Linked DNA regions of Homo sapiens: regions 2, 3, 4 and 5 are each linked to region 1. Evidence: promoter capture Hi-C in 16 types of primary human blood cells and fetal thymus (Javierre and others, 2016). All regions are on one chromosome and are shown on one strand. Each heading gives the region's core, a stretch centred on a gene start or on the middle of the fragment in contact. The rest is flanking DNA. Distances are from core to core; before and after follow the strand shown. Region 1 holds the start of ZNF266 (zinc finger protein 266). Region 2 has its middle 20 kb from the start of OR7D4. Region 3 overlaps ZNF561-AS1 (ZNF561 antisense RNA 1). Region 4 has its middle 16 kb from the start of OR7E24. Region 5 has its middle 24 kb from the start of ZNF699.

What was found. The method cuts DNA at HindIII sites, captures the fragments that hold promoters and counts their contacts. A CHiCAGO score of 5 or more calls a contact.
Region 2: a contact is called between a fragment that was not itself captured here and the fragment with the promoter of ZNF266 in region 1, in 1 of 17 cell types (megakaryocytes). The highest score is 5.7, in megakaryocytes.
Region 3: a fragment that was not itself captured here is called in contact with the fragment with the promoter of ZNF266 in region 1 in 7 of 17 cell types (erythroblasts, naive CD4 T cells, fetal thymus and 4 more); the score reaches 8.9 in erythroblasts.
Region 4: a fragment that was not itself captured here is called in contact with the fragment with the promoter of ZNF266 in region 1 in 1 of 17 cell types (activated CD4 T cells); the score reaches 5.9 in activated CD4 T cells.
Region 5: a fragment that was not itself captured here is called in contact with the fragment with the promoter of ZNF266 in region 1 in 1 of 17 cell types (activated CD4 T cells); the score reaches 5.1 in activated CD4 T cells.

Annotation. Positions count from the first base shown.
Region 1 is chr19:9,432,603-9,437,894 of GRCh38, forward strand. It overlaps ZNF266 (zinc finger protein 266), which reads right to left and starts at 2,971. Exons shown (of 11, transcript NM_001370374.1): 1 at 2,682-2,971; 2 at 2,506-2,591; 3 at 2,196-2,257; 4 at 1,473-1,633; 5 at 1,066-1,184. LOC105372269 (a long non-coding RNA gene) reads left to right here and starts at 3,039. Exons shown (of 3, transcript XR_007067133.1): 1 at 3,039-3,170. RefSeq lists an enhancer at 2,762-2,891. The HindIII fragment of the contact is 21,418 bases long and covers 1-3,275 here.
Region 2 is chr19:9,197,087-9,202,378 of GRCh38, forward strand. No RefSeq gene overlaps it. Among named protein-coding and RNA genes, the nearest start is that of OR7D4, 20 kb to the right of the region's middle. The HindIII fragment of the contact is 2,921 bases long and covers 1,097-4,017 here.
Region 3 is chr19:9,622,121-9,627,412 of GRCh38, forward strand. ZNF561-AS1 (ZNF561 antisense RNA 1) reads left to right here. Exons shown (of 4, transcript NR_122038.1): 2 at 4,664-4,740. Among named protein-coding and RNA genes, the nearest start is that of ZNF561-AS1, 3.3 kb to the left of the region's middle. The HindIII fragment of the contact is 3,033 bases long and covers 860-3,892 here.
Region 4 is chr19:9,264,237-9,269,528 of GRCh38, forward strand. It overlaps the pseudogene OR7E19P. Among named protein-coding and RNA genes, the nearest start is that of OR7E24, 16 kb to the left of the region's middle. The HindIII fragment of the contact is 650 bases long and covers 2,772-3,421 here.
Region 5 is chr19:9,283,411-9,288,702 of GRCh38, forward strand. No RefSeq gene overlaps it. Among named protein-coding and RNA genes, the nearest start is that of ZNF699, 24 kb to the right of the region's middle. The HindIII fragment of the contact is 4,986 bases long and covers 826-5,292 here.

The DNA of each region.
Region 1 (5,292 bases), core at 1,721-4,220:
GCTCCTACAGCATATTTCTGGTCACAAAAACATCACTAAACTTCTAAATAAAGACCCCAAACACTTCTAATATTAAATATTGAAATAAATGTGAAATATATATACATTTAAGAAAGACTAATAAAAATAGGCTATTTATCCAATTTTTGATGAATTGGTATGTGATGGCAGTTAACAGTGGTGGGTTAAAACAAATAAATGCTTCCAAAGCAAAAACTCTAAGGACCACCTCCTACCACCAAGAAGCTCAAAAACAATAACAAATGGGGCCAGCTTGCTAAGTGGTACCATTTACTGTTGTACAGTTGTATCATTATCAAATGTTTTAGGAATTTTTATTTTACAATAGTTTGTATTCATTCATTCATTCTCCAATCCACCTATTCCAGTTCCAGAATGAAAATGGCCAGAGCCCATCCTAACAGCTCAGGGCACACACACACATAGTGGGACAATTTAGACACACCAATTAAGCTAACATGTGCATCTTTGGCATGTGGGAAGAAACCAGAGTACCCAGAGAAAACCCATGCAGACATGGGAAGAACGTGCAGAATCTACAGAGTGGCCCTACTGGAATTTGATTTTTTTTCCGTCATCGATGTTATAATTAACAGACATTATTCTAAGATCTGTTGTATTTCCAGGCCATGTGGCCCCTTCACAGCTTTTTGGCAGCCCACATTGGCAGGTGAGTTTTCTGGTCATTTACTTACATGGATTGTATCAAGCCAACCCCCTAGGTGTATGAGTGTCTATAAGGAGTCACGCAGAGTGCTTACTCTGGACATTCCTTCAGGGAAACGAAGGACTAATTTAGGTAGGAGAAGGAACCCAAAAGTGAATTGAAAAAAACAACGAGAGAAGTTTTGTCTGTTTATGAATATACATATTTCCTAAGACTAATAATTAACATCAGTGAATTTTCATGGAGAGCTTATTTTTCAGTGATCAAGCACTGATTCTCATTAATCCCTTGAATTAATTTCTTATTCATGTAATTAAAACACATTCATGCTTCTCCTATTTTCCCTTGATTTACATCATTTGTCAGATATCACTTACTTTGGCCAGGCACAGTGGCTTATACCTGTAATCCCAGCATTTTGGGAGGCCGAGGTGGGTGGATCACTTGAGGTCAGGAGTCTGAGACCAGACTGGCCAACATGCTGAAACCATCTCTACTAAAAAAAAAAAAAATACAAAAATACAAAAATTAGCCAGGCATGGTGGCGCACACTTGTAATCCCAGCTACTAGGGTGGCTGAGGCAGGAGGATGGCTTGAAAACCCAAGAGGTGGAGGTTACAGTGTTTCAGTGAGCCGAGATCCTGCCACTGCACTGGAGCCTGGCAACAGCGAAACTCTGTCTCCCAAAAGATATCACTTACTATTTCCTGTCATACATTTAAGATTAAATTATCCCACCACATTGTTTCCCCAACCAAAGAAAGAATACTGACTCTGTCAAACCTGGGAGTAATCTTTGATGCACTCCTCTCTCTCACCATAGAAGTGGAGTCAGCCAATTCACAGAATGCTTTGCCCAGCTCTTATTTCCTTCCCCTTCAGTATGGCTAAATCATACCATATTTTTGGTCTCAGCTTGCATATCACTCTTTTCTTAGCATTGCCTATTCCAAAGAAAAATAGAGAAAATAATTCTGTCCTCTACTTTACTTACAGACCTTCATCAATTTGTAATACACTTATTTGCTTGGTTACATGACAGCCTCCTCCACTAGTTTACAACCTCCCTAAGAACAGCCCTAGGCTGAATTTTTTTACTATGCCTTAATTAACCATTCAGACACTCATCCATTTACAGGATACACCAATAAATGAAGGATACATTTAAACACGGCACAGAATACAATCAGAACTACCAAAATGTATAACTTTCTGAAAGAACGAGTGACTGCGCAAAAAGACAATATAACGGATAAACAGTGTCTGCTAGTTTTAAAGAGACTAAAAGACATGAAACTTGGATACGTAATAGATCCCAAAACAATCAAAACCATATATTGGAACAAAGTGGAGAACTGTACCTTTTTACACAGGGTACATATTAACAACATTTTAAATTTTCTGGGGTAATAGTATTATGGTTTTAAAAGGACATGTCTTTATCCACAGGACACGTATTACCAAGCATTTAAACCTTAAGTGTCACGCCTGCAATGTTCAACTTACTTCAAAGCCTCCATTCCTTCTTCCTAAAAGCCCGTTTTGAAGCTCTGTGGGGAGGTACAGGCCTAGGAAGTTCAGATAAAAAGAATAGCTGAGTATTCTTGCTTTTCTTCAGTAGAAAGACTTCTGGTCTACAAACGTTTATATTCACATAGAGAAATAACCACACCCCAGATACCTAAAAAATAGCTTTATGTTTCTACCTGAATGTAGAGTGTCAAAAGTAAATACAGGATGCGCAAAGAGAAAAACAAATTCTCAGATAAAACAGGAGGAAGAAGCCCCCGAAACCAACTTTCACCCCAGTACTCACCGCGACGAGCTGGACTCGCCAGGTACGGGAGATTGGGGGGATGAAGGACCAGTCAACCTGATTCGAACGACGAAAACTCGTTGTTTCTGGAAAAAAAAAAGTCACAAAGAATTGCTTTGGAAGAGTTTGAAGCGGCAATCACCGTGTTTGCAAAAATCGTGAGGAAGCGCCCTTACGACAGATCCCGAAACGGCTCCTGGCCCAGGGCCGTCGCAGTGACAACTCGAGTGGCTTTTTGAACCTGGCGGCGCCAGGAGGACCCGCGCGGCCCCGGCGGACGCGAGCGGAGCAGGCAAGGTCTCTCTAAGGAGGCCCCTCGGCGGCCTGGGGCAAACCGGTACTTTCGCCACCCCTTCCACCGCTGGCTCCCACCCGTCATCCGACCTCGCCAAAGCTGTATTAAGCCCAAACGCCACCAGGAAGAAAACGGGTTTGGCGGCGCGGAGAAAGCGCCGGAAAACACAGCAGCGCTCCGTGACGTCACTTCCGCCTCCAGCCTCAAACCTGGAGGAGCGCTCGGGAACTGCAACCTCAGCCGAGCTGAACAACCTCAGGCAGAGAGATTCTGGTTTACTCCCCAGTGGCTACGGAGACGCCTTGGAGGCCTTGGAGTCTGCTCACCTTGAGGGATGGAGGCCAAAAGGGGCCCAGAGCACAAGGCTGAGGTTAGAACCAGCCCTGCGGACGGGGCTAACCTAGGGTGGGGTCGGTGGTGTTGGCAAAGTTAGAGGTGGGGGCTCCCCCACAGGATGTGCACAATGCTCACAAAAAGCTTTTATTCTCACCTCCTCCCACGTTCCTAGCACCCTCAAAATGATGCTTCCTTTGATAATCCTGCCAGTCCATGATATGGCCTATCTCCTCCATTCATTCAATCTAGTTTTAGTTTTTTATTTTGTTTTTGTTTGAGACAGGGTCTCACTGTGTAGTCCAGGCTGGCGTGCTGTGGGGCGAAACTCATGGGCTCACGCCATCATCCCGCCTCAGCCTCCCGAGTAGCTGGGTCTACAGGCGCAGGCCACCATGCCCGGCTAATTTTTTTTCCCCCAGAGTTGAGGTATGTTACCCAGGCTGATCTCAAACTCCTGGGCTCCAACAATCATCCCGCCTCAGCCTCCCAAAAGGCTGGGATTACAGGCGTGCACCACGGCGCCGGGCCCAATTCAACTTGAGGCCAATATTTCCCCTTATTTCATTTATCTGGACGCCATGCTAAATTCTAATAGTTGATTCCTTTGTGTATTCAATATGCTGATACTTTTTGTAAATGTTGATTTTTTTTTCTTTGACTAATATATTGTTTTCTGAGATCTTACAGTGAGTTCCAGGGCCTCGTTGTAAAATACCGCGTTGTAAAATAGCACTGATATCAGGCATTCACTTCTGCAGGAGTGATTCTAGTTTCTCCAGAAATCGTTTTTGCTGTGCTTTGTAGTGGGTGGCCTTTATGGAGTTAATAAAGTTATTTTGAACACTGTTTTACTAACATGAAGAACTGTTCATGTACATTATCAAATATTTTGTGAATCTACTGAACTGGTAACTATTTTGCAGTTAATTTTTCAACTCAAAAAGATTTTCTTTTTTAAGTTTCCTCTCTTGCATTAAGAAGTCTTCATAAACTCTAGATTACATATAGATTTCCTAATTTTCTTCTGCAGCATATTACTTTAAAAACATTGAAATCTTTCATACTCATGGAATGTGTTTCAGTATGTGGTGTGGGATAGTGGATACAATATCTCTTTCCTCCAGAAACACGGCCAATTATTGTAGTACCACATATTGATAAACTGTCCTTGATTTACTGATTTCAAATTCCATGTTTATTAAACTATAAATTCCTATGTATACCTGTATCTGATTCTAGACTCTATGCCAGTAATACATTTACTTATGCCAATATCAAGATCATAATCTTTTCATTCCAGTGGTTTTGTATCAACTAATAATATTCCGTGGTAATAATAATAATAATGGTAGCTTTTTTGTTTGTTTGTTTTTGAGACAGTCTTGCTCTGTCACCCAGGCTGGAATACAGTGGTACGATCTCGGCTCACTGCAACCTCCACCTCCTGAGTTCTAGGGATTCTCCTTTCTCAGTCTCCTGAGTAGCTGGGATTATAGGCACGCGCCACCACGCTCAGCTAATTTTTGTATTTTTTTTTTTTTTTTTTTTTAGTAGAGATGGGGTTTCGCCATGTTGGCCAGGGTGGTCTCAAACTCCTAACCTCAGGTGATCTGCCCACCTCAGCCTCTGAAAGTGCTGGTGTGAGCCACCGCACCTGGCGGTAGCTGTTTTTTAAATCTTACTACCCTAAATGCTTAATAGACATTAAATTTTTACGCTCCCAATGATGTGGCTATTATTGTGATTTTTCCCTTTTGGTTTTTAGACCAGCTGTATTGAGATACAATTCACATATAACCAACACAGTTCACCCACTTAAAGCTATATAATTCAATATTTTTTAGTACATTCGCAGTGTTGTTCAAACATAATTTTGGAACATTTTAATCACACTAAAAGAAATCTTTGAATGGGAAAACCCATTTACCTCCTCTTTAAGCTCCAGGGAACCACAAACCTACTTTATCACTACAGATTTTTCTTTTGTAGACATTTCATATGGATATACTCATACAATTTATTTTTATTTTTGTATAGACAGGGTCTCACTATGTTGCAAGGCTGATCTCGAACTCCTGGGCTTAAGTAGTCCTGCCTCGGCCTCCAAAAGTGCTGGGATTATAGGCGTGAGCCACCATGCCCGGCCTAAAAATCAT
Region 2 (5,292 bases), core at 1,307-3,806, 240 kb before region 1:
GCACAAACATAACTCTTTTTTTTTTTTTTTTTTAAGATAGAGTCTCACTCTGTCGCCTATGTTGGAGTGCACTGGTGCAATCTTGGCTCACTGCAACCTCCGCCTCCCAGGTTCAAGAGATTCTCCTGCCTCAGCCTCCTGAGTAGCTGGGACTACAGGTGCGCACCACCACGCCTGGCTAATTTGTGTATTTTTAGTAGAGACAGGGTTTCACCATATTGGCCAGGCTGGTGTCGAACTCCTGACCTCATGATCTGCCCACCTCAGACTTCCAAAGTGCTGGGATTACAGGCCTGAGCCACTGCGCCCAGCCAACTCTTTGGTTTTTATACAAAAGTACATACCTTGAAGACATTATCATCACTGAAGTAAATAAATCACAGAAGGATAAACACAACTGGGCTCAGTGGCTCACACCAGTAATCCCAGCACTTTGGGAGGCTGAGGCAGGCGGATCACTTGAGGTCAAGGGTTTGAGACCAGCCCGGCGAACATGGCGAAAGCTCGTCTCTACTAAAAATACAAAAATTAGCCAGATATGGTGGCACATGCCTGTAATCCCAGCTACTTGGGAGAATGAGACAGGAGAATTGCTTGAACTTGGGAGGCAGAGGTTGCAATGAGCCAAGATCACGCCACTGCACTCCAGCCTGAGTGACAGAATGAGACTCTGTCTCAAAAAAAGATAAACACAGTATGATTCCACTGATATCAAATATCTAGAGTAGTTAAACTCATAGAGTTGGAAAACAGAATGGTGGCCCCAAGGAGTGGGCGAGAGAGAGGAATGGAGAGTTTGTTGAATGGGCACAGTTTCCATTTTGAAAGATAAAAATGTTCTGGAGATGATGGTGGTGATGGTTGCTAAACAATACAAATGTACTTAATGTCATTAAACTGTAAACTTAAAAATAGTGGAAATTGTTTATATTGACCCTTCTATATAAAATAATATATATTTATACTTTTTAATATTTACACATGGTATATTTTACCACAATAAAAGATGAAAATTGAAGCATTTGGATCTTTACAAAGAAAAGAAAAAAGTGAATAATACACACAAGCTTTCTCCTGATTAGAGGAAGAGCCCAAAAGCTTCTATGGACACTCATTTTTCTCTTCTTCTTCCTGAATTATTATGAGGAAGTCCTTAGAGATTGGGGAACTTGGGCCAATTTGGCTAATGAGGAGCTCTGTGCCTTGAGCCCCCAAGGCCATAGCATAGTGAATACTCAGCCTGTGCCTCCAGCCCTGCAGTGTGAGCTTCCAGTCCAGTGGGCTCCACACCTGTCGTCTGCATCAGGAGGCTCATGTCTGACCCTGTCTTCCTGCCAGTCCTGAGGACGGAGCCTGAGCCTCCATCGTGCACCACGCAGGGAGGACAGCGGACCTGCTCTCCATGATCATGGCCCAGCAGAGGGGAAGCGCAGCTCAGTGAGTGCTGAGGGATGGTCGGGAGCCTTCTTTCCTCATCCTCAGGACAAACAGGACAGTGGAGTGGCAGATAGGAGGACATCAATGTGCAAAATATCAGCTCAGACAACTGTGGAGTTTATGTTCTTGATTGTGGTGGGGACTCTGAAATCTCACTCAAAGTTTTACTTTCTCCCTCCACTGGTTCTACTTGCTATAGACATCTCACTGAAGCTAGGAAAAAATAGGTCTCTCTAAGCTATTCCATGAACACTGTAAAAGGATTATGAAGCTGATGATGAGGATGAGGAGGAAGAGGACAGTCACTATGACATCATGAACTTTTCCTGAGGGCTTCCTGAATGCCAGGCGCCCAGTTCTGTGTTCTATGTGGTTTGTTTCATTTTATCTGCATAGCCTTCTGCAATCCATAAGTGCACACATTATTATTATTTTGCACGAGGAAAGGAGCTGTGCATTTTTATGTAACTTGTAGTATTTCATGAAGTAGAGAGGAGTAAAGCCATGTTTGAATCAGGCCATCTAAATCCTTGCACATGGCATTTGGCTAGGCCTCTTCCTGCATCCAACCTGCCCTCTCGAATCCCTGTCACTCTGGACCCCTGGTGTGCTCACTGCTTACCAGTGGGTTCCTGGTAGACCACAGCTAGACCAGTGGGTGCTACGTTCACTGTATCAAGTATAGAAAGGGCAGCTGAGATCACATCAAAGATCCCAGAAAGAACTGGCACAGGATCCTTCAGGGTGCATCTCTCCCTTGCCCCTGTTCCTGGCTTTCCTTGCAGCTCTCCACCTCCTGAAAGGAGAAATAAAATCAGAGTTTTGGCCTCATTCCTACTCAGGAATCTGGAAACAGTTTGAAAATGCACCTCCGATGTGCCTGTGGTTAAGACCTCTTACCTCTGCTTACAACTTTCTGATAGCTGGGAAACATAAAAAAGGTTCATGCCTGAGACTCAGAGACTGATCATTTATTAGGTTGGTGACAACAGTAATGGCAAAAACCTCAATTACTTTTGCATCAACCTATAATTTTTTTAAAATCCTGTTATTCCACTTATCTGTGTGGCAGGGGGCAAGATGTTAGTGTTTCTGAGACTCAACATTGCCACCTGAGTTGATTTCTAGTTGACACAGATACATTCAGTATTGATTAAGCAGATCATGGGGGCTCCCTGTGGGATCTATTTGTGATGGATGCATAAAGTAAAGGCAACGTGTATTCTAGAAATTGTTATTAATATTTTAAGATTAATCTTTATATCACTCAACTGAAATATCCTGTGACCTGAAGTTACTGTTTCTGTACTTCCCACAGGACATTTTATTTTTGTCCTTATATAATTAAGTACTGATTATTGTGACAGAAACAACTGAGTCTCTTTCATCTCTAATTCTCCAGAGTCTCTAACCTGCTTGACACAGAGGAGGCATCAGAAATAAAAATCTCTTTTAAGAGAAATGCAGGTCAGGCGCATTGGCTCATGCCTGTAATCCCAGCACTTTGGGAGGCTGAGGCGGGTGGATCACTTGAGGTCAGGAGTTTGAGACCAGCCTGGCCAACATGGTGAAACCCCATCTCTACTGAAAATACAAAAATTAGCTGGGCATGGTGGTGGGCACCTGTAATCCCAGCTACTCAGGAGGCTGAGGCAGGAGAATCACTTGAACCTGGGAGACAGAGGTTGCAGTGAACTGAGATCGTGCCTCTGCACTCCAGCCTGGGTGACAGAGCAAGACTCCATCTCAAAAAAAAAAAAAGAGAGAGAGAGAAATGCAAATCGAAACTACAAGGAGATATCATCTCACCCCATTTAGAATGGCTTTTATCAAAAAGTCAGGCAATAGCAAATGCTCACAAGGATGTGGAGAAAGGGGAACAATTGCACACTGTTGGTGGGAATGCAAGTTAGTCCATCCATTATGGAGAACGAGTTGGAGTTTCCTCAAAATACTACAAATAGAGCTACCATAAGATGCAGCAATTCCGGGCCAGGTGCGGTGGCTCATGCCTGTATTCTCAGCACTTTAGGAGGCCAAGGCGGGTGGATCACGAGGTCAGGAGATCGAGACCATCCTGGCTAACATGGTGAAACCCTGTCTCTACTAAAAATACAAAAAATTAGCCGAGCGTGGTGGCGGGCGCCGGTAGTCCCAGCTACTCGGAAGGCTGAGGAAGGAGAATCGCTTGACCTGGGAGGCGGAGGTTGCAGTGAGCCAAGGTCGCGCCACTGCACTCTAGCCTAGGCGACAGAGCGAGATTCCATCTCAAAACAAACAAACAAACAAAAGATACAGCAATTCCATTGCTAAGTATATACCCCCCCATAAGGGAATCCATATATTGAAGAGATATCTGCACTCCCATGTTTATTACAGCACTAGTCACAATAGCCATGATTTGGAAGCAGCTAAGCATTCACCATCCATTCAACATATGAATGGACAAAGAAATTGTGTACATGTGCACAATAGAGCATTATGCAGCCATAAAAAAGGAAGAGATCCTGTCATTTGCAACAACTTGGATGGAACTGGGGGCCATCAATTTAAATGAAATAAGCCAGGCACAGAAAGATAAGCTTCACGCGTTCTCACTTATTTGTGGGATCTAAAAATTAAAACAATGGAAATCATGGAGATAGAGAGTAGAAGGATGATTACCAGAGGCTGGGAAGGGGAGTGGGGGTGAGGGGAAAAGTGCAGGATGGTTAAGCAACACAAAAGTATAGTTAGAGACAATGAATGAGATCTAGTATTAGGTGACTGTAATCAACAATAATTTATTGTACATTTTAAAATAGCTAAGAGTAATTGGATTGTTTGGCACAAGGAAAGGATAAATGCATGAGGTGATGGATACCCCATTTACCCTGATGCGATTATTGTACCTTGTATGCCTGTGTCAAAATATCTCATGTCATTCATAAATATATACACCTGCTATGTACCCATAATATTTTTTAAAAAGAAAATGATGTATAATTATGTGTGTAAATGTGGATATAACTCTACAGAAATACTGAATGAAAAAGCAAGTTACAGAGTAATACCTGCTCTATACTTTCGTTGACATAAAATTTAAGAAAGCAAAATTAAATGATTCATTACTTAGGGATATATATATATATGAGTAGAGTATAAAGAAAGAAGAGATTAACTCAAATTTCACATTGGAGGTTACCTGTGCCGTAGGGCTGGGGTGCCTGGAACCATAGAAGGATGCACGGCTTCGAAGATTGTGCTTTTTTTTTCTTGTTTGTTTGTTTTGTTTTGTTTTTGTTTGTTTGTTTTTTGAAAGTGAGTCTTGCTCTGTCACCCAGGCTGGAGTGCAGTGGTGCAATCTTGGCTCACTCCAACCTCTGCCTCCTGAGTTCAAATGATTCTCATACCTTACCCTCCCAAGTAGGTGAGATTACAGGTGTGTGCCACCACGCCCGGCTAATCTTTGTATTTTTAGTAGAGGCGGGGTTTCACCATGTTAGCCAGGCTGGTCTCGAACTCCTGACCTCAAGTGATCAGCCCACCTCGGCCTCCCAAAATGCTGGGATTACAGGCATGAGCCATCGAGCCTGGCCCAAAGATTGTTTTTTGTTTTGTTTTGTTTTTTGAGATGGAGTCTCGCTGTGTCACCCAGGCTGGAGTGGCACGATCTTGGCTCACTGCAGCCTCCGCCTCCCAGGTTCAAGTGATTCTCTTGCCTCAGCCTCCCGGGTAGCTGGCATTACAGGCAGGCCCTACTGCGCCTGGCTAGTTTTTGTATTAGAGACGAAGTTTCACCGTGTTTGTCAGGCTGGACTCAAACTCCTGACCTCAAGTGATCCTGAGCCTCAGCCTCCTAAAGTCCTTCGATTA
Region 3 (5,292 bases), core at 1,126-3,625, 190 kb after region 1:
TGGCAGAATTTAACAATATTACCACAGGTCTTTGAGAAAATTTGGCTTCTAAGAGGGATTACTATTTATTTCAATCAGACTGGGAGGAAAGTCCCTTTGAAGAGGAACCTGTATTTATTTCATTTTCTACAAGTCCAAGAGTTTGAGACCAGCCTGGGCAAAGTAGCAAGACCCTGTCTCTCTCTCTCTCTCTCTCTCTATATATATATATATAAACATATATGTATAAATACATATAAATATATAAATATATAAAAAATATATAAATATACATGTTCAAAATGCTTGTTCCCTGGTGCCATAAAGAAATTAGCACTTGAACATAAATTTAATTTACTCAGCAAGGCCATTTTTACTTCCTGCAGAAACGGTATACTCACCAGCAGTTTTGCCACGAGAGTACACCAAACAAAGGAGATAGGGTCATTTATAACCTGATGCTTCCAACCTACTGCTGTGTCCAGTTTCCACTGGCTGGAATGGGACCTCACGTTCTGGCTAGCAACTTATAACTTTTTAAAAGAGGCAAGGGTAGAGGAGAACAAAGGAAGGAGGAAGTAACTTGTGGAATGCTGAGAAGGGTCAAAACATCTTCAAATAAGGAAAAAGAACAGGCTATGCCCTAATGCTTGCCTGGACCAGTACAAGCATGCCAGGGCAAATATGTAGACTAAACTGTGGGAGCTAAGAATATAAAGTACATTGATTTCTTTATCACGGCTCACAGATACTTGAGAATGTTAGCACAGGTCTTTGAATAAATTTTGCTTCTAAGAGAAGTTACTATTTATTCCTAATTAAATGTGAAGGAACGTCTTTGAAGAGGAACCTCTGCTTTACTTTTTAGATATAAATATAAAGCTTGTTTGTATGCCTCTCCTCATGTTCCTAGAGCCTTTCCATGATTCTTCCATATTGATAAAGCTGCCAATGAATGGCATGGTCTATCCCTTCCATTCAGTCAGAGTTTCTGTAGGCCTTTTTTTCTTCATTCTTTATTTTTTAGAACCTGCTGATTCCATTGGGTTTTCTTTTTCTTTCTTGCTTGCTTGCTTGCTTGCGACAGATCTCACTGGATCAGACCAGGCTGGAGTGCAGTGGTGTGATCTCAGCTCACCGCAACCTCCACCTCCCAGGTTCAAGCAATTCTCCTGCCTCAGCCTCTGGAGTAGCTGGGATTACAGGCGCCTGCCACCACGCCCAGCTAATTTTTGTATTTTTAGTAGAGAACGATTTCACCAGGTTGGCCAGGCTGATCTCGAACTCCTGGCCTAAAATATCTGCCAGGCCAAGATGGTAGGATCGTTTAAGGCCAGGAGTTTAAGACAAGCCTGGGCTACACAGCAAAACCCCATCTCTCTATATATATATAAAAAAAATTTAAATTAAAAAATGTTTTGTTTTGTTTTGTTTTTTTGAGACATAGTTTCGCTCTGCCACCCAGACTGGAGTGCAGTGGTGCGATCTTCACTCACTGCAAACTCTGCCTCCTGGGTTCAAGCCATTCTTCTGCCTCAGCCTCCTGAGTAGTTGGGACTACAGGCATGTGCCACTGCGCCCAACTAATTTTTGCATTTTTAATACAGACATGGTTTCATCATATTGACCCAGCTGGTCTCAAAGTCCTGACCTCGTGATCCATCCACCTGGTCCTCCCAAAGAGCTGGGATTACAGGCATGAGCCACTGCCCCAGCCAAAAATATGTATTTCTGTTGTTATTTTTCTGATCTTACCACATGGGCCAGGAACACATTTCCTACGTTGTAAAATAGCACTGATACCAGACATTCTCCCCAAGATTATTCAGAAATGTAACATACTCCCAATAAAAATACCAAAAGTTTTTTTCTGGAGTTAAGTACATTGATACTGAAGTTTATGTGGAGGAACAAACATCTGATAATAACCAAGAAAACAAAAACAAAAGCAATGATGAGCAGCAGATATTAAAACATACTATTGACAGTTTTCATGCAAGGCAAAGAATTACATTATTTTAAAATAAAAATAAAGTCCGGGCACAGTGGCTCACGCCTGTAATCCCAGCAATTTGGGAGGCCGAGGCAGGCAAATTACCTGAAGTCGGGGGTTTGATACCAGCCTGGCTAACATGGTGAAACCCTGTCTCTACTAGAAGTACAAAAATTAGCAAGCGTGGTGGCACATGCTTGTAATCCCAGCTACTTGGGAGGCTGAGGCAGGAGAGTTGCTTGAGCCTGGGAGATGAAGGTTGCAGTGAGCCGAGATTGTGCCACTGAATTGCAGCCTGGCTGACAGAGTGAGACTCTGTCTAAAAAATTAATTAATTAATTAATTTAAAAAACATACTATAAAGCCTCTATAATTAAAACTATGTGGTACTAGCACGTGAAACAGAAACTAATAAAATATCAAAAAATAGACCCATGAACATGTAGAAATTTGGTTCATAAATGTATTTTGCCAGATGCGGTGGCTCATGCCTGTATCCTAGCAATTTGGGAGACTGAGGCAGGAGGATCACTTGAGGTCAGGAGTTCAAAACCAGCCTGCCCAACATGGTGAAACCCCATCTCTATTAAAAATACAAAAACATAGCCGGGTTCGGTGGCTCATGCCTGTAATCCCAGAACTTTGGGAAGCCGAGGCAGCCGGATCATGAGGTCAGGAGTTCGAGACTAGTCTGACCAACATGGTGAAATCCCATCTCTACTAAAAATACAAAAATTAGCTGGGTGTGGTGATGCATGCCTGTAATCTCAGCTACTCAGGAGGCTGAGGCAGGAGAATTGCTTGAACCCAGAAGGCGGAGGTTGCAGTAAGCTGAGATCGCACCACTGCACTCCAGCCTGGGCAACAGAGTGAGACTCTGTCTCAAAAAAGAAAAAAAATTTAGCCAAGCATGGCCGAGCATGCTGGCTCATGCCTGTAATCCCAGCACTTTGGGAGGCTGAGGCAGGCAGATCACGACGTCACGAGATCGAGACCATCCTGGCCAACTTGGTGAAACCCCGTCTCTACTAAAAATAGAAAAATTAGCTGGCATGGTGGCGGGTGCCTGTAATCCCAGCTACTCAGGAGGCCGAAGTAGGAGAATCGCTTGAACCCAGGAGGCGGAGGTTGCAGTGAGCCAAGATCGCTCCCCTGCACTCCAGCCTGGCGATAGAGCGAGACTCCGTCTAAAAAAAAAAAAAAAAAAATTAGCCAAGCGTTGTGGTGGGCGCCTGTAAGCCCAGCTACTCGGGTGGCTGAGGCAAGAGAATTGCTCAAACCTGGGAGGCAGAGGTTGCAGTGAGCCGAGATCACGCCATTTCACTCCAGCCTGGCGACACAGCGAGACTCTGTCTCAAAAAAAAAAAAAAAAAAAAAAAAAAAAGCCGGGTGCATTGGCTGATGCCTATAATTCCAGCACTTTTGGAGGCAGAGGCGGGTGGATCACCTGAGGTCACGAGTTAGAGACCATCCTGACCAACATGAAGAAACCCCGTCTCTGCTAAAAATACAAAATTAGCTGGGCATGGTGGCACATGCTTATAATCCCAGGTACTCAGGAAGCTGAGGCAGGAGAACCGCTTGAACCCAGGAGGCGGAGGTTGGGGTGAGTGGAGATCGTGCCATTGCATTCCAGCCAGGGCAACAAGAGAGAAACACCGTCTAAAAAAAAAAAGTGGCATTTCAGATAAATGGGGCAAAAAATGCCATTTGTAACAAATGGAAGGTCTAAGATAGCTGGTTAGCCATCTGAGAAAAGATGAAATTAAATCCATACTTCACAGCATATACAAGAATAAACTCCAAGTGGACTAGGGATCTAAGTGTAAAAAATAAAACCACACACGTATTTAGGGTGTTTAAGTGATTTCTTGGCTGAGTAAGGAAAAAGATGTTACCACAAGGCGGCAGTAGCACACAAGCTTCATTTGGGATGTGCTTTGACAGGTTAGCAGTGGGGGAGGTAGCAAACAGCAAGAGAATATCCACAGGCTTCTACCTGTGGGTCGCTGCTCAGAAAGGGTGGAAAGGAAGAAAGACTCTCAGAGGAGAAGGGGAATCAAAGAGGGGGCTTATAAATAACTAAATGATGATATTCACCAGACTGGCAGCATATCTTCCAGTTAAAAAGCTCTGAAGGATAAGTCTGGCCAATATGGTGAAACTCCGTCTCTACTAAAAATACAAAAATTAGCAGGTATGGTGCCAGGTGCCTATAATCCCAGCTACTTGGGAGGCTGAGGCAGGAGAATCGCTTGAACCCAGGAGATGGAGGCTGCAGTGAGCTGAGATTGTGCCCCTGTACTCCAGCCTGGGTGGCAGAGCAAGACCCTGCATCAGAAAAAAAAAAAAAAAAAAGCTCTGAAGGACCGCAGGGGTATGGGGTTTTCATAGCCCTGGAGTTATCTTATCTATGGCTGTCAGATATTGGATATAATTTCAGAGAATACAAAGCAGGCGCACTCGAAATGGCTAAAAATAGGCTTGTTCAGGCTATGTTTCAAACAATCCAGTGTGTTAAAATTGCAGTTTGGCAGGGGTAGGCTATTGTGAATACTAGTGAGACAAACATTGGTGTACAAATATCTCTGAGTCCCTGCTCTGAACAGTTTTGGATATGCCAAAGTGGAATATCTGGATCACATGGTAATTCTGTTTAATCGTTCTTTTTTTTTCTTTTTTTTGAGACAGGGTCTCACTCTATTGTCTAGGCTCGAATGCAGTGACGTGATCATGGATCACTGCAGTCCTCAACTTACTGGGCTCAGGTAATCCTCCCACCTCAACCTCCCAGGTAGCAGAGATTACAGGTGCATGCCACCACCATCCTTGGCTGAATTAAAAAAAATTTTTTTGTAAAGACCATATTTCACCATATGCCCAGGCTGGTCCTGAAGTCCTAATCTCAAGGAATCCCCTGGCCTCAGCCTCCCGAAGTGCTGGGATTACAGGTGTGAGCCATCACATCCAGCATGGTTTTGATTTTCATTTTCATGATGTTTAGTGATGTTGAGCATCGTTTCATGAGCATCTTTTCGTGTGTTTATTGGCCATCTGTATATCTTCTTTGGTGATATTATTCAAGTCCTTTTTCTGTATTGAAATGAGTTTTGTTGTTGTTACTCTTGGGTTCTAGAAATTTTAAAAATAAACTCTGGATATTTGTCCCCAGTCAGATACAGGACTTGCAAATATTTTCTCCCATTTGTAGATTGTCTTTTTACTCTCTTGTTATTATGCTTTGATGCACAAAATTTGTATCATTGATTAGGTTCAACTCATAATTTTTCTTGTGTTGCCTGTGTGGTTGATGTCATAAC
Region 4 (5,292 bases), core at 1,847-4,346, 170 kb before region 1:
CAAGCGATTCTCCTGCCTCAGCCTCCTGAGTAGCTGGGACTACAGGCGTGTACCCCCATGCCCAGCTAATTTTTGTGTTTTTAGTAGCGACATGGCCAGGCTGGTCTCCAACTCTTGGCCTCAAGTGATCCACCCACCTTGGCCTTCTAAAGTACTGGGATTACAGGCGTGAGCCACTGCACCTAGCTTGTAATACTGTTCTTGCCAGTACATTTGACTATATCCCCTCAAACAGCCTCTCAGTTAAGCAATTATCGCTCTACAGATAAAATATTAATCATTCGATAGAAATATGGTTTATATCATACCCTGAGCCATGCAGCTTATAACATCATTACTAATATATTCTGGAAATATGCACATAAAATTAAATTCTTTAAATGTGATACTAGAAGCTACCATTTGATGGGAAACTACTCTGACTGGTTCATGACACAAGATATACAATCGGCTGGGCACAGTGCCTCACGCCTGTAATCCCAGCACTTTGGGAGGCCAAGGCGGGTGGATCATGAGGTCAGGAGTTCAATACCAGCCTGGCCAGGATGGTGAAACCCCATCTCTATTAAAAATACAAAAAAATTAACTAGGAGTGGTGGTGTAATCCCAGCTACTCGGGAGGCTGAGGCAGAGAGTTGCTTGAACCCGGGAGGCAGAGGTTGCAGTGAGTCGAGATCATGCCACTGCACTCCAGCCTGGGTGACAGAGGAAGACTCCATCTCAAAAAAAATAAAAATAAAATAAAATAATAATAATAAAAAGATATGCAATCATTGCATGGCCTTGGGGGAAAAAAAGGCTATTGCACTTACTTTGCTGCAGAGAAATCTGAGGCTCAGAAAGGAGCTGTGAGTTGTGATATCACCAGGACACCAGTGTCATTGCTCAGACACTCCTAGACACAAGGACGCTGTTGAGGTATATGGGATCCGCTTGTGATGTTTATGATGAACAAATGATACCAGAATACTCACCCGTTCCAACTAAAGACCCAAAAAAGGAAGCAATATTCATACATGAAACATGGAGAGAAACGAAAGCAAACAAGCAACAAAAATAATGTGACCAAAGAGACAGAATTTGCAAATAGACATGTTTGATTTTGCAATATATTTCAGCCCCCACTACAGAAAGGATGGAACAGATAATGAGATTAGACTGTTCTGCTGTGCAGCCTCCACAGGGCACTTTTAATGTCCCTGTTTCTCAGGCTGTAGATGAAGGGGTTCAGCATAGGGATGACCACAGTGTACATCACTGAGGTGACCGCACCCTTCCTGGGGAAAGAGGACGCAGCTGAACTGAGGTAGGCTCCAAGTCCTGTTCCATAAAATAAGCAAACAACTGCCAGGTGAGAGCCACATGTGGAGAAGGCTTTATACTTCCCATCTGATGATGGAATTCTTAGAATGGAGGAGACAATTTTATAGTAAGACAAAAGGATCCCTGAGATGGGAAGAAAACCAAATATAACACTATCTAAATACATGAATATGTTATTGATGACACTGTCAGAACAGGCAAGGTTGAGAAGTTGAGATGGCTCACAGAAAAAATTAAAGATTTCCACATTCTTGAAGCAGGTGAATTGTAACACAATCTGATTGTGCAGCTGGGAGTTCAACAGGCTAAGAATAAAAGACACCAAAACTAAGAAGACACAGAGATGGGGATTCATGATGACTGGGTAGCGTAGGGGGTGACAAATGGCCACAAACTGGTCATAGGCCATCACAGTCAGGACCATGTCATTCATACACACAAAATAGATAAAGACATCTGCATCAGGCAGCCCTCATAGGAGATGATTCTGCTGTGAGATTGCATATCAACAATCATCTTAGGGATGGTGGCAGAGGTGAGTCCGATGTCAGCCAAGGACAAGTTGGAGAGGAAGAAGTACATGGGGGTGTGGAGGTGGGAGTCACAGCTGACGGCCAGGATGATGAGCAGGTTCCCCAGCACCGTGATCAGGTACATGGACAGGAACAGCCCAACGAGGACGGGCTGCAGTTCTGGATCCTCTGAGAGTCCCAGGAAGAGAAATTCTAAGACACCTGTGAGATTCTGCGAGTCTGTGTAACTTGGACACCTTGAGAAGAAAAGAGGGTTGAAAAAATAAAAGACATAAATCAGCACTTACTGCTGTGTGCATATTTTGGATACAAGCAATTCACAAGTAACATTTTCACACTTGAAGACCATACACCCTCAGCAATATTTCTCCATTGTGAGAAACCCAAAAATCTCAGAATTATTACATGATTTACTTTTTTGCTATTCAACTCTTTCTGTATATACCTACTTCAGAGAAAATCCACTGAAGAATGTTAAAAGATCAAGGACGTAATATATAACAAATCCATGATTGCAATAAAACATGGCCTAGTCTTTTCAGAAAAAAAAAATAAGAAATGTACTTTTCTAAGAAAAAAAAAGCCCAATTTAATTAAAAGAAATTAAGAAGCAGTGAAATATAATTCATTTTATTCTGACACTGTGCTACAAACTCCTTGGATGTAGAATATTTATAAACACTATACAAGAGCTAGGAGCACATTATCTAGAAACTAAAACAGACCTGCTAGTTCATAATCAGAAGACCTTTTTACATGCCAATTACTTTTCATATTTTTTATCATTCTTAGGTTTTCTGACATCATTTCTTCACACAAGTAAATGCACACTCAAATATAGGAGCTATGTTTCCAAATTTATTTAATATATAGCTCTTGTCCTTGGCTCATGTTTTCTTTGGGTTTTGATAAGAAAGCTTTGTTGCACATAATCATAGGCCTTCAGCAACCACACAGCTATCGATAATGTGTAATGCATGTGTCATCACTAAATAATAATGAAGTTTAATAACATTTTCTCTTTATTTTATTTTAGCCTGGAATGATGCGAAACTCAAAATTGTGTCTAAGCACGAGAATCAGGTCTACCTGCCCTCTTCTCTTTGTGCCTTTCTTCATTCTGATATAGCTACAAAAATCTCTGCGATGGTATTTAGGTACTTGAACATTGCAGATGCTATTAAATGGAATTCTAAGGTCCCTGTGTCTGTGACATAGACATAAACAGGTGTTATCTTGTATCTCATTTTATTAGACATTCCTAAAGGGATGAGGGGACAGACAAGAAACCACCAACTGTGTTGAGGTCACACTAATCACAGCCAATTTTTTGTGATCCAAGGAAGGGCCTATCCAGTATTTAACGGGGAACTTTATTTTTGATGCCTCCTTTGGGACTGGCAAGATATAGGCTCTGGGGGATCAGAAACGAAAGAGATGCAAACATTCCTCTCATAATACTCAGCACTTACTTAGATAGGTGCAAATGTCAAATGTCCTGTCAGGGATGTAGGGAACTGTAACTTCAGGCCAGAGGACATTTCAGTTCAATTGTATGAAGATTAAGCTTAAAATAGTAATAAGAATATCAAAATTCACTTTGGTTTTATGTATCCATCACATAGAGATCAGCAGAGAACACCCATGATCTGTTGAATCATCACTCACTGTAGTTGGGTCAACTAGAAATCAGCTCAGATGATAGTGCTGAGTCTCAGAGACACAGAGATCTCACCCCGTGTCACAGAGTTCAGGGAAATGGGCAGATTCAAAACTAAATGGTCCGTCTCTGAGGCCCAGGCACTACCCTTCTTCATTATTGTTCAGCTCTCAGAAAGTCTTAAGCAGAGGTGGGAGGTCTTAACTACAGGCACTTCTGGGGTGCATTTAGAAACGAGTTCCAGCTTCCTGAATAGAAATGGAGCCAAGACCCTGATTTTATGTCTCCTTTGAGGAGGTGGAGAGCTGCAAGGAAAGCCAGGAACGGGGGAAAGGGAGAGATGCACCCTGAATGATCCTGTGCCAGTTCTTTCTGGGATCTTTGATGTGATCTCAGCTGCCCTTTCTATACGTGATACTATGAATGTAGCACCCTCTAGTCTAGCTGTGGTCTACCAGGAACCCCCCAAGGGAAGGGCACAGTGAGCAAGGGCATCTGCCAGGACTGACAGGGATTTGAGAGGGCAGGTTGGACTCAGAGAGAGGCCTGGCCCAATGCCATGTGTCTGGACTTAGACGGCTCCTTTCCTATTCTATAATTAAGAATAATGCGGCAGGTATAATTCAGGGAAGACTAAGCAGATGAAAGAGAACAGGCTTCATAGAACATCAAGAAGTCCTCAGTAAAAGTTCATGATAGCCTGGTGACCATCGTCTTCCTCCTCATCCTCATCATCACCTTCATAATCCTTTTGGCATGCTTAGGGAACACGCTATTACGAGTGAGATGTCTTTGGGAAGTTGAACCAGTGTGGAAGAAAAGTTAAACTTTGAATGAGATTTCTGAGACCAATCACAACCCAGAACATAAACTCCACGGTCGTCTGAGCTGACATTTTGCACGTGGGTTTCCTCCCATCTGCCACCCCACTGTCCTGTTTGTCCTGAGGATGAGGAAACAAGGCTCCCGACCATCCCTCAGCACTCACTGAGCTGCGCTTCCCCTCTGCTGGGCCATGACCACGGAGAGCAGGTCCGCCGTCCTCCCTGTGTGGTGCACGATGGAGGCTCAGGCTCCGTCCTCAGGACTGGCAGGAAGACAGGGTCAGACATGAGCCTCCTGATGCAGACGACAGGTGTGGAGCCCACTGGACTGGAAGCTCACACTGCAGGGCTGGAGGCACAGGCTGAGTATTTACTGTCCTATGGCCTTGGGGGCTCAAGGCACAGAGCTCCTCATTAGCCAAACTGGCCCAAGTTCCCCAGTCTTTAAGGACTTCCTCATTAATGCAAGATAAAGCAGAAAAAATGAACGTCCCCAGGAACTTTTGGGCTCTTCCTCTAATGAGGAGAAAGCTTGTGTTCATCGTTCACTTCTTTCATTTCTTTTTCTTTTTCAAGGATGCATCTTTTTTAAGTTTTCATATTTTTATCCTGGCAAAATGTACCACATTCAATATAAAAATTATAAATATAGGTTTATACAAAATGGTAAGTAACATTTTACCATTTATCCTCTTCAAAATGGTAACCAATACCATTTTAACCACTTTTCACTGTACAGTTTGCTGGCATTAAGTACATCCACAGTGTTGTGCAACCACCACCGTCATGCATCAATATATTTCTCTTTCAGAACAGAAACTCCTGACTGCAAGCAATCCACCCAGCTTGGCTTCCCGAAGTGCTGGCATTACAGGCGTGAGCCACTGCACCCGGCCATTCTGTATGCTCATTGTCTATTTGTTTATCTTCTTTAGAGAAATGTCTATTCTAG
Region 5 (5,292 bases), core at 2,069-4,568, 150 kb before region 1:
GCTGCAGGTGGAGCTGCCTGCCAGTCCCGGTGCCGTGCGCCCGCACTCCTCAGCCCTTGGGTGGTCGATGGGACTGGGAGCCGCGGAGCAGAGGGTGGCGCTCGTCGGGGAGGCGCGGGCCGCACAGGAGCCCATGGAGGGGGTGGGAGGCTCAGGCATGGCGGGCTGCAGGTCCCAAGCCCTGCCCCGTGGGAAGGCAGCTAAGGCCCGGTGAGAAATCGAGCGCAGCGCCGGCGGGCTGGCACTGCTGGGGGACCCAGTACACCCTCCACAGCCGCTGGCCCGGTTGCTAAGCCCCTCATTGCCCGGGCCGGGCAGGGCAGGCCGGCTGCTCGGAGTGCGGGGCCCGCCAAGGCCACGCCCACCCGGAACTCCAGCCGGGCCCGCAAGCGCCGCGCGCAGCCCCGGTTGCCGCTCGCGCCTTTCCCTCCACACCTCCCTGCAAGCTGAGGGAGCCGGCTCCGGCCTTGGCCTGCCCAGAAAGGGGCTCCCACAGTGCAGCGGTGGGCTGAAGGGCTCCTCAAGTGCCGCCAAAGTGGGAGCCCAGGCAGAGGAGTCGCGGAGAGTGAGCGAGGGCTGTGAGGACTGCCAGCACGCTGTCACCTCTCAACCTCCCCTGAATCTTGTTGTCTCGTGGAAGTAGGCGATGAAGACAGAAGCTCTGCCCCCCAAAAGAGCAGGGAGACAGAGCCCGGCAGGTGGTACGCGGCCTGGATGATTTCTCCTGGAGAACGCATGAGTGTCTTGGACCTTGCGCCTGGGGGCCTGGGTGACTGTAAGTAGATGAATTGCATGTTGGGCCCTGGGGTGGTCTATCCCCTCTGAAGCTTGTTAGACAAATTGGTCAATGGCGTATTCATTCCCTGATCAGTTTGGTTCCTCATGGGCAGGGACTACACAGGAAGAGGTCTCTGAACGGCCAATTCCTTATTCTTGGGAGACTATCAATGGGGCCAGCTGTGACTCCCGTCTCCTGTACCTCTCCTTTGGGAAGAATCACTCTAGTCTACTTTGAATCACCTTTGGTGACAACTGTCAGCAATTTTTTTTTTTTTGAGACAGAATCTCGCTCTGTCACCCAGCCTGAAGTACAGTGGCGAAATCTTGGCTCATTGCAATGTCTACCTCCCAGGTTAAGCGATTCCCCTGCCTCAGCCTCCCAAGTGGCTAGGATTACAGGCGCGTGCCACCATGCCCGGCTAACTTTTGTATTTTTAGTAGAGATGGGGTTTCACCGTGCTGGCAGTCTGATCTTGAACTCCTGCCTTCAAGTGATCTGCCCATCTTGGCCTCCCAAAGTGCTGGAATTACAGTCGTGAGCCACCACACCTGGGCAGCATTTTCTGACTTGAGGTTTCCTAATTAGGCAGATAGTTGGGTAGCAAAGGGTCCCAGGATTCACAAAAAGGTAGTGGTTCTCAAAAGGGAGCCCGCACCAGATGACCTCAAGGACTTGTTTAAACACAGATTGCTAGAACCCACTTTCAAGTTTCTGTCCCAGTAGGTCTAAATTTGAGTCATAATTTGCATTTGGGACACATTCTAGATGTGATGGTCCCCAGGACAATCTTTTTGGGAACCAGTGTCCTGGGGCAGTGCTTCACAAATTGAGATTTATCAAAGGTATAAAGAGGGGATCTTGTGAACAGATAGCTTCCTACCCTATCCCAGACTTACCTTGCCAAGATCTCCAAAGGAAGACCTAAGAGTCTACTTTAAAAAAAAAATACTATAGTTTTTTGTTTTTGTTTTTGAGACAGGGTCTTGCTGTGTCACCACGGTGGAGTGCAGTGGTGTGATCACAGCTCACTGCAGCTTTAACTTCCTGGGGTCAAGCAATCCTCCCACAACAGCCTCCTGAGTAGCTGGGACTACAGGAGTGCACCAACATGCCCAGCTAGTTTTTACTTTTCTTTTTTTTTTTTTTTTTTTTTTTTTAGAGACAGGGTTTCACCATGCTACCCTGGGGGATCCCAGGGTAATAGCTTCCCACTCTATCCCAGACTTACCGTGTCAATATCTCCAAGGGAGGACCTAAGAATCTACTTTTTAAAAAAAATTTTAACAGTTGGCCGGGCACGGAGGCTCACGCCTGTAATCCCAGCAGTTTGGGAGGCCGAGGCGGGTGAATCATGAGGTCAGGAGTTTGAGACCAGCCTGGCCAACATGGTGAAACCCCGTCTCTACTAAAAATACAAAAATTAGCCAGGCGTGGTGGCACACGCCTGTAATCCTAGCTACTCAGGAAGTTGAGGAAACAGAATTGCTTGAACCTGGGAGGCGGAGGTTGCAATGAGCTGAGATCGCACCATTGCTCTCTGCCTGAGGGACAGAGTGAGACTCTGTCTCAGAAAAAAAAAAATTACAACAGTTTTATTTATTAAAGTTTTTATTAATCTAAAATAAATAAATAATAAAGTTTTTATTAATTTTTTTTTCTTTTTGAGACAAGGTCTCACTCTTGTTAAGGCTGGAGTGCAGTGGCGCAATCTCAGCTAACTGCAGCCTCAAATTCCCGAGCTTAAATTATCCTCTCACCTCAGCCTTCCAAGTAGCTGGGAGTACAGGCTGCGCCCCCATGCCCCACTAATTTTTTTTATTTTTTTGTAGAGACAGGGCATCACTATGTTGCCCAGACTGTCTAGAATTTGTGGCCTCACGTAATTCTTCTGTCTCAGCCTCCCAAAGTGCTGGAATTACAGGCATGAGCTACCACACCTGGCCTTTATTAATATTTTTATTGTGGTAAAATATGTATAACAAAATTGACCATTTTAAGTGTAAGACTCAGCAGCACATTGCCGGGCACGATGGCTCATGCCTGTAATCCCAGCACTTTGGGAGGCTGAGGTGGGTAGGTCACCTGAGGTTGGGAGTTTGAGACCAGCCTAACCAACATGGTGAAATCACGTTTCTACTAAAAAAAAAGTATACAAAAATTAGCCAGGCCTGGTGGTGTGCACCTATAATCCCAGCTACTAGGGAGGGTGAGGCAGGAGAATCGCTTAAACCCGGGAGGCGGAGGTTGTAGTGAGCCGAGATCACGACACTGCACTCCAGCCTGGGCGACAGAGTGAGACTCCATCTCAAAAAAAAAAAAAAAAAGGAGACTCAGTGGCACTAGGTACATTCACAATGGTGTGCACCATTACTACTATCCATCTTCCATTCTTTTTCATCATTTCTGAATGGAAACCCTATACGCATGAAATAATACCTCCCATTCTCCTCTGCTTCCAGGCCCTGGCAACCTCTATTGCTCCTTCTGTGTCTATGAATTCCCTGTTCATGTTTCCTCATATAAGTGGAATCATACAATATTTGTCATTTTGCGTCTGGTTTATTTCACTTAGCATAATGTTTTCAAGGTTCAACCATATTGCTTTTATTTATTTATTTACTTTTAATAGCAATGTGGGTCTTACTATGTTGCCCAGGTTGGTCTCAAACTCCTGGCCTCATGCAATCCTCCCGCCTTGGCCTCCCAAAGTGCTGGGATTACAAACGTGAGCTATCATGCCCAGCTCCATGTTGCTTTTGGGATCAAATGCAAACAATCATTACTGAGGCCAATGTCAAAGAGCTTTTTCCCTATATATATTTTTTGAGAAGGTTTATGGCTTCATGTCTTACATTTAAGTTTTTCGTGCATTTTCAATTGATTTTTGTATATAAGAGTCAAATTTCTTCTTTTTTTTCTGTTTTGCATACGGATATCCAGTTTTCACGCCACCATTTACTGAAAAGACTATCCTTTCCCCATTGGGTATTCTTAGTGTCTTTGTTGAAAAATAGTTGACTGCACATACATGGAGTTATTTCTAGGCTCTCTATTGTGTTCCATTGGTCTATGTGTCTGCTATTATGGCACTAACATACTGTTTTGATTCAGTAGTTTTGTAATATAGCAATGAAATCATGAAATGTGATGCCTCCACCTTAGGTCCTCTTTTTAAAATTTTTAATCAACAAATAATAATTGTATATATTTAAGGGGTACTATGTGTTTTGTTATATGTATACATTATGGAATGATGAAATAAAGCTAATTAACATACCCATCACCTCACATACTAGACAGGAACAGAAAGATAAACACTGTGTGATCAGGAGCTAAGCTATGACTACATGAAGACATAAGAATGATACATGGGACTCTGGGGACTTGGGGGAAAGGGTGGGAGGGGTGAGGGATAAAAGACTACACATTGGTTAACAGTGTACACTGCTCGGGTGATGGGTACACCAAAATCTCAGAAATCACCGCTAAAGAACTTATTCATGTAACCAAACACCACTTGTTCCCCAAAAACCTATTGAAATAAAAATGATAATAAATACTGCATGATCTCACTGATATGTGGAATCAAAAAAGTCAAACTCTCGGCAGCAGAGAGTAGAATGGTTGATACCACGGGCTGGAGGATGGGGTGGAGAAATGGGAAGATGTTGGTCAAAGGGTGCAAAATTTCAGTTAGACAGGAAGAAAATTTCTGGACATTGATTGTACTGTATGGTGACTATAGTTAATAATAATGTATTGTACATTTGAAAATTCCTCAGCCGTGGTGGCTCATATCATGCCTATGATCCCAGCACTTTGGGAGGCTGAGGCGGAAGGATCACTTGAATCCAGGTCTTCCAGCCTGGACAACATAGCAAGACCCCATCTCTACAAAAAAAAAAAAAAGTAAAAAATTAGTCAGTTATGGTGGTGTGTGCCTGTAGTCCTAGCCACTTGGGTGGATCACTTAAGCCCAGAAGTTCCAGGCTGCAGTGAGCTATAATCACACCACTGCATTCCAGCCTGGGCGACAGAGTGAGACCCTGTCTCAAAATAATAATAAACACTAATTTTCAAATATTCACCATAATCCCATCAACAATTGTATTTCCATATCCTCGCAATCTAACTATAGCCCCTGTTAGGACTCCATTACCAGTCTTGGAACCAGAGTACATGAGGCTCCCATGTCAAGGAGTCCCAGAAAAGTCTTTTCTCTACCTCCTGACCATTTTATGCACTTGTGTGAATATCACCTTGTGTTACCAGCCACGTTTCTACTAAAGAAAGTATACAAAAGTTAGCCAGGTGTGGTGTGCACCTGTAATCCCAGCTACTCAGGAGGCTGAAGCAGGAGAGTCACTTGAACCCAGGAGGCAGAGGTTGTAGTGAGCTGAGATCATGCCACTGCACTCCAGCCTGGGTGACGGAGCAAGACTCTGTCTCAAAAATAATAATAATAATAGTAATAATAATAACTCTTTGGGAGGCCGAGACGGGTGGATCAC